2 separate regions of the Homo sapiens genome follow, and region 1 is linked to region 2. The links are contacts of gene promoters, found by promoter capture Hi-C in blood cells and fetal thymus (Javierre and others, 2016). All regions are on one chromosome and are shown on one strand. The core of a region is centred on a gene start or on the middle of the fragment in contact, and the rest is flanking DNA. Distances in the headings are between cores, read along the strand shown. Region 1 overlaps TUFT1 (tuftelin 1). Region 2 holds the start of MRPL9 (mitochondrial ribosomal protein L9).

Region 1 (6,618 bases), core at 1-2,500, 200 kb before region 2:
TTCTAAGATTTGAGTGTTAGGAGAATAATGTTTCAAAGTTGGTTGCTTTCATCTGTTTTAACTACCAATTTTATTTTTCTTTGAACAGGTGGTGCTAGAAAAGCCAAATGGCTTTAGTCAGAGTCCCACAGCCCTGTACAGCAGCCCACCTGAGGTAGGTAACAGAGGACACCATGGTGGCTCCGCTTAGCCAGGGGCAGGATTGCCTCCTCCCCATCCTTTTGTTTATTGCTTTCTCTCTCTCTCTCTCTCTCATTAAATACAAGAGTAGTAGTTGACATAAAAATTCAAACACAGAGAAATACAAAGAGTAGAAATTCTCCTTCCCCAATCTCTCTCCTTGCGAGTATCCACTGTTAACAGATTGAAGTGGGTGGATCTTTCTAGGGCAGTGCTTCTCAGCCTCAGCTGTTCATTGGAATGGCCTTGCAAGCGTTAAAGGATATGATGCCTGGGTCCCATCCCTAGAGCTTGTCATTTCATTGTTCCAATAGGTGGCCTGGGCATCAGGACTTTTAAGAGCTCTTCAGGTGATACTAATGTTTAGCTAAAGTTGAGTGCCAGTATTCTAGAATATTTTTATATACATAGACAACCATATTTAAATATCATGTATATGTTATATACACACCATATATACATGATAAATATATGTATATAATATACATGTGCTTTTCTCAACTATAAGATCATGGTAAATACATTATTCTTTGCTTGCTTTTTTTTTCTTAACTAAAGAGTATATTATAACCTTCTTTCCATGTCAGTACATATAGATCTACCTCATTCTTTTGAATAACTACATAGTATTTCCTTCCATGGCTGTACTTGATTGATTGACTGATTGATTGATTGATTGACTGACTGACAGAGTCTCACCCTGTCACCCAGGCTGGAGTGCAGTGGCAATCATGGCTCACTGCAGCCTCGACCCCCGGGGTTCAAGCAATCCTCCCACCTCAGCCTACCCAATAGCTGGGACTATAGGGCACGCGCCATTATGCCTGGCTAATTTTTGTAGAGATGGGGTTGCCCAGGCTGCTCTTGAATTCTTGGGCTCAAGTGATCTGCTTGCCTCGCCTCCCAGAGTGCTGGGATTATAGGCATGAGCCACTGTGCCTAGCCTACTTTTTAAATTTTTATAATTATTATTTTTTGGGACAGGGTCTCCCTATGTCATCTGAGCTGGAGTGCAGTGGTGCAGTCATGGCTCATTATATTCTCAACCTCTTGGGCTCAGGTAGTCCTCCTGCCTCAGCCTGGGAGGGACTGTGGCAGCCACTATAGTGGCTGGGACTATAGACACGTGCCACCACACCTGGCTAATTTTTGTATTTTTTGTAAAGACAGGGTCTCATCATGTTTCCCAGGCTCATCTCAAACTCCTGGGCTTAAGTGATCTGCCCACCTCGGCCTCCCAAAGTTTTGGGATTATAGTCATGAGCTACTATGCTTGGCCTCCATGACTGTACTTTATTTGTTATTTTTTGAGATGGAGTCTCGCTCTGTCACCCAGGGTACAGTGCAGTGGTATGATCTTGGCTCGCTGCAACCTCCACCTCCTGGGTTCAAGCAATTCTCGTGCCTCAGCGTACTGAGTAGCTGGGACTACTGGCGTGAGCCACCACGCCTGGCTAATTTTTGTATTTTTAGTAGAGATGGGGTTTCACCATGTTGGCCAAGCTGGTCTCGAACTCCTGACCTCAGGTGATCCTCCCACCTTGGCCTCCCAAAGTGTTAGGATTACAGGCGTGAGCCACTGCACCCCGCCACCATTACTGTATTTTTAAAAAGTGTGTTATTATGTTTTTTTGTGATTATACAATACAAAACATTCATATTGTAGAAAATTTGGAAAATTCAGAAACACAGGAAAGTGAAAGAAGAAACAAATATCACTTGTAATCTACTCAGAGAAAAACCACAGTGAAATTTCATCTTTCCCCGAATGCAAATATATATTTACCATGTGAATACATTGTACAGTATGTAGCATTTCTTTATAATTTTTTTTTTGTTTCTTTAGTTGGGTATGTTTTTGCATTCGGTGTTTTTGGCCCTCAAGTATAGGTTGAATCAGACCCACCCATTAGTTCATGACACATCATCCTCATGGGTCCTGTCAAGGCCTCTCACTGGTTTCAGTTTTTTGTTTTTTGTTTTTTTTGCCTCTCCACCTCCTGCAAGAGAAACTCACTCTAATGAATTCAATATATGGCTTTAAATATGCCTGTAAAATGTTCAGTATACATGATGAACTTGTGCTATATCTTCTTCCCTCTTTGTTCTTGTTTTCCCTGGTACCGTGTTTTTTAGGATCTATCTACATTGCTGTATTAAAATCTAGTTCATTGCTTCTGCCTCCTACATGTACTTTTATAACTTACTTTTTTGCTTCATGTTATATCATATGATGAAATAATATTTTCATGAAAGTTTTCCATGTCATTAAACAGTCTTATGAGAACACTCTTTGAAATAAGTGCATAATAGCTGTGTTCCAGGAACCTTTTAAAGGCCATTGGCTCAGGTGAGGATTTAGGGAAATTGACTGGATAACTCATGACATCTAGATTTGGAATGCTGTGATTCTAACCACTTGCTTTAGATGGGCAGCTTGGACTTTCTCCTTCTTTTGAATCACCATATTTGGCAAATACATTGTTGGCAACAAATTATAATAACACCTGGTAATATCTGTTTGGCCTCTTTCTTCTCACAAGCTCAAAGCTGTACCGGATGTTATCTTACCTAGTTTTGAGGCAGCCTGTAAGGCAGGGTGTGGTAGGGAGTGTACTGACTGCCTCACAGATAAAGAAATGAAGGCCCACAGGACTTCACTTCTTCATTATCACCCACAGGATGATGATGCAGAGACTGGGACACTGTCTTCCTCCAGTGTCTGGTGCCTGTGCAGCAGAGACGGGGGTGAGACCCTACATGTTAGCTCATCTCTAACCACCAGCCCACAGTTGGGTGTGTCTGGGAGAGACTGAGCAGTTACCTCGATGAGACACCTTTTTCCACATCGAATCAGATTCGTGGACTCATTGCATGCTTTTGCCCTAAACCTGTCCATCCATCAGTAACCCTTTATATGCTGCTGTCAGTGCCAAAAGCTGAGAATGGTAAAGGATGTGCTTTTGGACCACTCCCTTTGTGATGGGCGCGACATAGTCCCTGTCCTGTGGGAACTCTAGTCCAAAGGGGAACATGGTCTCTGCTCTCAGAGAGCTGTAGGCAGATAGAGGGAAGCAGGATGCACACCTACAGACAGCATCCACATATTCACCAAGAAATCGATTAGTGGATACATACATGAAATATTACTGAGCATGTCCTAAAATAATTGGGTGTTTTGAGGCTAGCAGGGTTCTTTAGGGTATGAAGGGACAATGTTTCATTGAATAACTCAGAATTCCTGGCTGCCTAAGGTAACTCTCCCCTTGTGTGATGACAGTTCTTTTTTGAGGGTGGTCTGGACGAGATGGTCCAAACCAGTGTGTGCCTGGGAGGGGGGACCTTTTCTTACTGAGTCAGAAACTTGAGGGCTTCCCCTTCCCTTCCTTGTTCTGGCTGTAGGTGGACACCTGTATAAATGAGGATGTTGAGAGCTTGAGGAAGACGGTGCAGGACTTGCTGGCCAAGCTTCAGGAGGCCAAGCGGCAACACCAGTCAGACTGTGTGGCTTTTGAGGTGAGATTTGGGATTTGGGGAGAAGGTGCCCTAAGGGATGGGCTACTGAACACAGGTGCCAGTGATGTCTCAGCTTGGACTTCCTGTCTTTCTGGCTGAGTGCCACAAACTGGAAAGGCAAGGCTGTGAAGCCTGGAACGCTTGTCTGCTTTTCCCTCTCCTGGACGTTTACACTGTTTACTGTCCAAGGCCAGCCCATAGTTCAAAGGTCAGCTCGGGATTCTCTGCTCTGATGAGTTTGAGGGTGGTGCCCATCTGGGGCAGCCGGTGATTCAGAAGTCATTTCTGTCTGTGTCGTGGTAAGAATCCCTGGGCTCTTGAGACTCCGTGCAGGCAAGGACTGCTGCTGACATGTCACCCCCGAGTCTCCAGTGTCTGGTGCAATACCTGGTATTAGATAGGTGCTTCATAAACGTGGACTGGATGAGTGACTAAATCTGTGTTGTTGTAGAAAGAACTGTACCCATCGAGTTGGAGGATTTGGGCTCTAAACTCAGCTTTGCTATGCAGAGCTTTGTGGTCTGGAATGAGTATCTTTTTTTCACTCTGCTGCCAAGCTGGAGTGCAGTGGCGCAATCTTGGCTCACTGCAACTTCTGCCTCCCGGATTCAAGCAATTCTCCTGCCTCAGCCTCCCGAGTAGCTGGTACTACAGGCATGCGCCACCATGCCCAACTAATTTTTGTGTTTTTAGAAGAGACGGGGTTTCACCATGTTGGCCAGGATGGTCTCGATCTCCTGACCTTGTGATCCACCTGCCTCAGCCTCCCAAAGTGCTGGGATTACAGGCACGAGCCACCATGCCCGGCCTGGAATGAGTATATTAATTATTGTTATAATACAGAAATCTATAAATGGAGAGTAAAAGCCCCCTACTATATGTGAGGTCTTCCATATTTTCTAGAAAATTCTTTGAGTATAAAACAAGGTACATGGGCAGTTTTCTTTCTGTCTTTGGAGACAGGGTCTCACTCTATTGCCAGGCTTGAGTGCAGTGGCATGATCTTGGCTCAATGCAACCTCCATCTCCCGGACTCAAGCCATCTCCCACTTCAGCCTCCTGAGTAGCTGGGACAACAGGTGCACACCACCATGCCTGGCTAATTTTTGTGTTTTTTGTAGAGACAGGGTCTTGCCATGTTGCCCAGGCTGGTCTCAAACTCCAAGGCTCAAGCAGTCTGCGTGCCTTAGCCTCCCAAAATGTGGGGATTACAGGCATGAGCCACCACACCTGGCCCATGGGCAGTTTTCCAACTGCTCTGTGTGAGGTTAACCATCTGTTACCTGCTTTTGTTCTTCCACAAGTAATGTATTCTTTGTGTTATAAATATGTTATGATAGGGTTATAGCCTGCCTAGGCATGCTAGGAGCTGGTAAAAAGAGAAAGGCCAGCTTGAACTCTTCATTTTCATGGAACTGAGAAGGAGAATTTTTGAGAAGAGGCTTGGCGGTGAGGAGGAAGGGCACCAAGGATGATAAACTGCTTCTATGTTAGCCGAAGTATTATTTGAACAAGTAGTTTAACCTCTCCAAGCATCTGTTTCAACTTTTGGAAAAAGGGTTAATGAAATACACCTTACAAGTTTGTTGTGTAGATCGAGTGAGGTAATATATGTGAGGGCACTTTATTATTCTGAAGGGTTTTAGAAATATAAAATAGTCTATATTTTTCTTAGCAATCAGTTTAACAAGGAGATTTTCCTATTTTAATAGCTTGGACTTAGGGTAATATTAAAATTAGTTTGTCATCTCAGAACAAAGTAGCTGTGTGGTGAAGAGGTATGTTGCATCTATTTCAGATTCCACAATTTGTATAATTTAGTTGGTGATGTATCAGTTGGTGACCAGCAGTTTCCTACCTTTTCCAAACAAAACAGGAAGAAAGGAAGGTTGAGGCTCTAGCACTGACCAGGTTGTGAATTTTGGAAAAAAATTTCTGCACTGAGAGACATTATGAAGTTGTGGAAATTATAGAAATATTTGCTGGTTTTAATCACACATGGAGGAGTCTGCCGCTCTGGATTTCAGAGCCTGAGCAAAAGTGCCCTGACAGCTATAGCCCACTGCCCAGAATTTAGAAGGGGTTATTTTTCTTAACCCCATAGTATGCAGGACCACCTGCAGCAGTAGGAGATGCTTCTTCTTGCTGGGCGCTGTGGCTCACACCTGTGAGCCAGGAGGCCTCAGGAGGCCTCAGGAGGCCAAGGCAGGAGGATCCTTGAGCCCAGGAGTTTGAGACCAGCCTGGCCAGCATAGATCTCATCTCTACAAAAATAAAAAAATTAGCCTGGTGTGGTGGAGCATGCCTGTGGTTCCAGCTACTTGGAAGGCTGAGGTGGGAGAATTTTTGGAGCCCAGGAGGTGGAGGCTGCAGTGAGCTATGATTGTGCCACTGCACTCTAGCCTGGGCAACAGATTGAGACTTTGTCTAAAAAATAATAAATATGGTACATAAATAATTTTTTTTTTAAAAAAGGAGGTGCTCCTCGGGTCATTCCCACTGTTGGGCTAGGTTGGCACACCTTTTTATAATTAAGAGGTTCCCTTGCGGGCAGGGTTGGCTGGAGCTACAGAGTCAAATGTGGAAGGGGAGTCTATTTTTTTTAACCTTTTGCTCCGACAGTGGGGTGCAAGAATCAGACCATGGCCTTATTAACACTGTGCTTGAGCTCACATCAACCTAGGTGCAGTGTTTATTTATGTACAGAAATGTACATAAATAAACATAAATAAATGTACATAAATAAAATTTTTTTAAAAGGCCTTACTTTTAAGTTCCTGCCTATGGGGATGGCCTATTTCAGGTTAATATGGGTCATATGAAGGCTTGTCTCAGTCTCTCCTAGTGAATTGGACTCCTTGGTCTACTTTTCTGAACCTATGGGTAGGAAAGGCAAGATGATCAATTACCATGAAAATAACT
Region 2 (6,295 bases), core at 728-3,227:
CCTCCAGGCGACAGCTTTTTAGAAATTTCACTGTCTGAAAGGAATTATGAGTTTGAGTCAAAGGAGAGGAAACATGTCAGGGTCACAGGGTATGCAAGCCAAGCAAGATGGCTCATGCCTGTAATCCCAGCACTTTGGGAGGCCAAGGTGGGTCTCCCAAAGTGGGTCACTTCAGCCCAGGAGTTTGAAACCAGCCTGGCCAACATGGCGAAACCCTGTCTCTACCAAAAATACAACAGTTAGCCGGGCATGGTGGCGGGTGCCTGTACTGATTATCTTCTCATGTGTCCATGTTCTCTCCAACTTGTACGTAAATATCCTTGAAGGCAGAGCCCTCATCTCAGACTATTCCATGGGTTCCCTGATTCCCAGATTGGGACCTCCCTTGGTACTTTAAGGCACTTCACCCAACACATCAGGGATCTCCCAAGAGGTCTCCATACCTGTTTTGTGGGGCAGCCACAACACTTCCCCTTTCTCCCACTCTTGGGTCTGCAATCAGGAGACCTCAAGGGAATCAGGGAGACTCTCAGGGTGAGGTTGGTAAGTCTTGTGACAAATAAACACTTTTTATGTTTCTACTCACCGCCTCACCTGCCTTGGTCTGGATCTTCTCTAATTTTCCTTCTTGTCTCAGCTAGAAAAGAAAGTTAAAGATGAAAAGCAGTAAAAGAAAAATGAGCCCATGTTAAATAGCATCAAACTATTCCTATGTTGGACATTGGCTGGGCTTCTGCATTCCTGTTCTTCTAGTTCCTATTTCATTTTCAAGTTAAGTTAAATGTCAAAGGGAAGGAAGCTGCAAGAGAAAAGAAGTTTTATCTCCCCAAGTCTCTCTGTCCTTCCTTTGAGCTCACCAATTTCTCCTCTTCAAACAGCTTCTTGTTTTCAGGGGATGCATATACAGCCAGTCCCTGAGGAAGGAGTCGATTCCGGCCTAAAGATTTCTTCACTGAGACCAGGTCACCCCGGACTCCAACATCTGTCAATTAGAACAGAGACAGGGGAATTAGAACCATCTAGGAGTCCCTAAAGAAAAGATGTCAAAAAGAGAAGCACCTCTTAGTTTCTCACAGTGCTTATTTTTCCTAAAAGAAATGCTAATTCATATTCACTAGGAACAAGATTTAAGAGACTGCTAATTAGTTTCTTTAGAACTTGATGTATAAATTTAATATCCCCTGTATAGAGGGAGTTGTCGTCCCATGGAGGATTTCAGTATCTGTGGCACAAATTGTCAGGCTCCTCTCCCCACACACTGTTAATGATGTTGCTGCCTTTATGTTTTAATTTTCAATGCTGGAGGCCAGTGTCACAATCACAATAGTTTTTATGGCTTCCTCTTCTCACATATAGAGTTGGATTGTTTCCACAAAGAAAAAGCAAGGCAAATAGTTGAGGGGGACGGGCTAGAAAAAGCTGATGCCAAACCGGACCAGCCTGAGAGGAAGCGCCTCGGCCCGGGCCTTACTCTCCACCGACTGCGTCAGGATGAGCTCCAGGTTTTCTTTGGGCCGATGCTTCGTGTCCTCCACCAGCTTATAGACGCGATGTCGCCGGTGCAGGCGCGGCTTCCGGCCCTCCCCGGCCAGCGGTACCTTCCACCAGCGCTCCACGATGACCGTGCCCTGGCGGCCAGGAAAGCGACGGTAAGCTAGTCTCCACAAGGAACACCCTCTCCCTCCACCACGGCCGCCAGCCCCTCAAGGAAAGCCCGCCACCCCCACATCGGCCCCCTCCAGGTCCCAGTGCGCCTCCAGAAACAATACTCGAGCGTATCTACCCCCTACCCCAGACTCAGCCCTCACCCGATTTTGAGAAAGGCTGAAGTTGCAGGCCAGGTCAGGGGCGTTCCCTTCATGTCGCGGCCGCAGTAGCTCCTGGACGCCTCCCCGAAGCAGCCGTCCAGCGCCCGCCCGCAGCAGAGCTCTGCCCGGGGCCGTGACAACGGGCGCCGCCATGTTCACAGGCACAGAATGAGACCTGAGGGAGGACCCCGGCGTCGGCGGCAGGAAAGGCCCCCGCCAGTGCTGCCTGCGGCGCGCCGGTACGGCTGAGCGAAAGTATGGGGAGCGGGCCGGGGAACAGATGGCACCGCGGCTTGCCTATTTTTGCTTTTTGGCAGAGGTGACGGACGCCTAGAATTACTGACTGATAATGGAATGAGTGTTAGGTGGACTGACGCCGGAAAAGACGCTCTTCCTCTTGAAAGTGTGGGCTTTGCTGTAGCTCCAGTTGCTGGGCTAACTTTTAATTCTAACGTTCTGTGATGACTGGATACTGACCGGAGAATGAATGATGCTCTCACTTTTCCTTACTTCAAATCTACCTAAAAGTGGTAAAGGATGGGATCCCTTGGAAAACTCTGCCAGCTCCAGGAGGAGCCTGACCCTTAATCATTATACTGCAGTATTTAAGCTAATAAAGGAGAATTCTAAATCACAAGCTATGTAAACCGTAGAAAAAAAAGCAACTATGGTAAGGCCGCGACAGTTCCCTCTGGGGAGGGTCTCAGTACTGGACAGAAGACCATAAAAACTGGATGAAAGAAGGTCCATTTGGCAGAGATTATGGAAAGACTGGCCCTTAAACATACTGACCAGTCCTCCTTCCTCCTAAATACACTACTTGGCCTCCTGGACACCGGTCTTCTTCAGTCTCGTTTGCTGATTTCTCCTTTTCTCCCCGCTTCTTAGAATGCCCTCGGGACTCCGTTTTTGAACCTTTACTCTTCTCAGTATACACTCACTGTTGATCTCATCCAGTCTCGTGGCTTACAATACCATTTATAAGCCAATGACTCCCAAATTTCTAGTTCCATCCTAGACATCTCCCAAACTCGTCTCAAATATTCAACTGTTTATTCGTCATTTTCCTCTTACGTATCCAAAGGACACCTCAAAGTTAACTGTCCCAAACTAATTTATTTATTCCCCCCTCGCCCCCAAAACTGCCCCATCTGCAGCCTTTTTCCTCTCAGTTGACAGAAACTCCATTCTTTCCATTCTAACTCTTTTCTCTCATACTCCATCAGGAAATCCTGTGGGTTCTACCTTTAAATTACAGATAGTCCCTGACTTGGATTTACAATTTTTGAGTTTGTGATGGTGTGAAAGTGATGTGCACTCAGTAGGACATCAATAAGTTACATGAAATATTCAACACTTTATTATAAAATAGGCTTTGTGTTAGATGATTTTACCCAACTGTCGGATAAGTTGTCTGAGCATGTTTAAGATAGGCTAGGCTAAGCTATGGTGTTTGGTAGGTGTATTATATGCATTTTCAACTTATGATACTTTCAACATACGATGGGTTTATCAGGACATAACCCTATTTTAAGTCAAGGAGCACTTGTATTTCCAGAATCCAGCCACTTGTCACCACCTCCAATGCTCTACCTTGGAATAAGACACTACTTTCTCCTGGATTACTGCAATAGTCCCCTAAAAGATATCCCTTAATTCTCTACAGTTTATAATTCTATGTAGCTTATTTATAGCAGCCAGAATGATCTTTTTAAAGCATAAGTCAGATCATGTCATTCTTCCACCCAAAACTTTGTAATGACTTCCTCCTTTACTCAAGGTAAAAGAAAAAGGCCATCAGATGGTCTACAAGGCCATACATACTCTGACCCCATTAGCTCCTCTCTAATTTACACTGCTCCACCCACAGTGGCCTCCTTGTTTCTTGAAAACACCAGGCACGTTTCCTGCTCAGGGCTTTTGCACTGGCTGCTTTTGCGTTGGATGCTCTTATCCTCAGATGCTGGCTTGGTTAACAACCTCACATCCTCCAAGTGTTTAATTAAATGTCAGTTTTTTTCAGTGAGAGATCACCCTATTTCTTACTGTAACCCTGACCCATCCCCTTCACATTCCTTATCTTCCTTTATCTTGCTCTATTCCCCCCACCCCATAGCAGTTACCTTCTAACATACTAAACAATTTACTATGTTTATTTTCTAGGTTTGTCCTCTCACTTTTAGAAGATACGTTCCATAGGGCAGGGATTTGTTTTGTTCACTGATGTATCATCTCAAGCACCTAGAATAGTGCCTGGCTAATAGTAGACCCTCAATAAATATTTGTTGAATGGATAAATATGCAGAGGTCTCAAAGTGGCAGTCCCAGAACCAAATTTTGCTTACAATGTTGTTTTTTTATCAACAATTTTTTAGTAGTTGATTTTTTTTTTTTTTTGAGTTGGAGTCTCGCTATGTTGCCCAGGCTGGAGTGCAGTGGCACGATCTCAGCTCACTGCAAGCTCCGCCTCCTGGGTTCACGCCATTCTCCTGCCTCAGCCTCCCGTGTAGCTGGGAATACAGGCGCCTGCCACCACGCCCGGCTAATTTTTTGTATTTTTAGTACAGACAGAGTTTCATCGTGTTAGCCAGGATGGTCTCGATCTCCTGACCTCGTGATCCGCCCGCCTCGGCCTCCCAAAGCGCTGGGATTACAGACGTGAGCCACCGTGCCCGGCCCAGTAGTCGATATTTTTTAAAATTGGTGAGATTTACTACAAAACTGTCTTTCCAGTTTCTGTTCAAAAATCATACGATACAGCACCATCAAGTCTGCATTCTTGCATGGAACTGGATGGAATTGAGTTGTGTGGACTTCCTTTAGATAACGTGTGAGCTTTCCTATTTTGCTACAGCCCTACCCTGCCACTCCACTAATTTCCATAAGCTGTCTAGGCCCCTGAAGGGGCCTAGACAATTAGTTTGCAATTCCTACCCTACAAGGATCCTGGGTTATTAAGGGTAGGGATGATAATAAAAATACTCAACTGGTATGAACTGGGAACCAACTAATCAGGTCACCACTGGATCAGAGCCTTGGAAGAGTCAGATACCAACTCTTTACTTGCTGGATTTTGGGGGAAGGGGAGTGTCCACAGAGGAGCAGGGTGGGTGGGCACAAGTGCTCAGGCAGGGCTTTTGGCCAACCAGTACAGAAGTCTTCAAGTTCTATTTTTTAATCATTCATACAGCCATAACATGCATACTAGTCGAATATGAGCCTTGGATAAGGGATTAGGGTAGATAAGCAGCAGAGTGGAGTCCTGAGGTGACATAAGGGCTGACCCCTTATCCATGTCATAGTGCCCACTGGGTCACAATGCCACCAGGTTGCCTAAACCTCTGCCACCCACCTGTGAACTTCACTTTGCCACAGGGAGGCACTGAACTGAAAAACTGCCTTGTAAGAGGTGTCGCCCCTCTGTCTACTCCCTTTCTTATATCAAGAGGGGAAAAACACGTAACTACCTCTACCCGATCTGGTCACCATACGCCTATTACCTTTACTGTTACAAGTACCGGATCACTCTCCGGGAGAAGATGCTGCCTCGTTGTTATAAAAGGTACTTGTTTTCATCTCTATTTGTAGTTGTTTATATAAAATGTAAGGAAAAAGTAAAAGAATTTGAAAGAATTTCCCAAATGGCAAGAAATAACAACAGAATAGGGGGTGGAAAGCTGGCATGGAACTTTAGAATTTTTCCATCTGGTTGGGCCCAGGAACATAGAAACAGGCTGGACAACAGAAAATACAGAAGATCATGCCAGAGCCTGGTACTGTGTATCTTCCCACCTCAGATTCCAAGATAAACTAATTTGGGTCTCTTTCCCAACCAGCATCACTTATAAGGAAGAGGAGGACTTGACACTCCAGCCCCGTTCCTGCCTCCAGTGCTCCTGAGTCCCTAGTAGGCCTCCAGGAGGGCAAAAGCACCGAGCAGGGTAACCACGACCAGCTTAAAGAACTGTATTCGGTAAGTGGACTGTGAGCTAGTGCTGTGACAGGGCAACCCTTTTCTTGCATACCTTGCAGAGGAGGGACATTAGCAAGTTGGAAGATGAATTACAGAGGTAGATGGAATCTTGGAACGCATGTGTAAAAGCTACTTGCTATATAGACAAGCATTCTGGCCCACAGACTGTAAAATCAAGGTCATACAGATGGTAGTGAAAATCAGGATTGGGAAAAGAGGGAGTGGGGACAAAGGTAAAACAAACTCTGTAGGACTTCTGGGACATAAAGCTGTTTATGCCAAGATCCTGCTTAAAGATGCTAAGCAGGATCTGGAATCCAGAACTTGCCCACATATCATATTGCAATAACAAGCCTGGTTGTAACCATGGCATTTTAAATAGAAGAATTTAGAGAAAACCCATATAATGAAAAAAGTGGAAATTATTAGTGAGAAAGGAAGCACATTATAAAGCTTTGTTTAAATCCTAAGCTCTCTGATGTAAACATTTCTAAGTTCCTAAATGGTTATTGTA

What was found. The method cuts DNA at HindIII sites, captures the fragments that hold promoters and counts their contacts. A CHiCAGO score of 5 or more calls a contact.
Region 1: a fragment that was not itself captured here is called in contact with the fragment with the promoter of MRPL9 in region 2 in 7 of 17 cell types (M1 macrophages, M2 macrophages, monocytes and 4 more); the score reaches 10.4 in M1 macrophages.

What each region holds. Positions count from the first base shown.
Region 1 is chr1:151,566,075-151,572,692 of GRCh38, forward strand. It overlaps TUFT1 (tuftelin 1), which reads left to right. Exons shown (of 13, transcript NM_020127.3): 6 at 89-154; 7 at 3,583-3,696. Among named protein-coding and RNA genes, the nearest start is that of MIR554, 24 kb to the left of the region's middle. RefSeq lists a silencer at 2,699-2,993. The HindIII fragment of the contact is 4,792 bases long and covers 1-3,646 here.
Region 2 is chr1:151,761,519-151,767,813 of GRCh38, forward strand. It overlaps MRPL9 (mitochondrial ribosomal protein L9), which reads right to left and starts at 1,978. Exons shown (of 7, transcript NM_031420.4): 1 at 1,809-1,978; 2 at 1,472-1,628; 3 at 858-982; 4 at 587-637; 5 at 1-34. The coding sequence starts at 1,961. OAZ3 (ornithine decarboxylase antizyme 3) reads left to right here and starts at 5,137. Exons shown (of 5, transcript NM_016178.2): 1 at 5,137-5,370; 2 at 5,645-5,781. The coding sequence starts at 5,204. It also overlaps a transcript of TDRKH not described here. RefSeq lists an enhancer at 1,749-2,128. The HindIII fragment of the contact is 8,401 bases long and covers 1-6,232 here.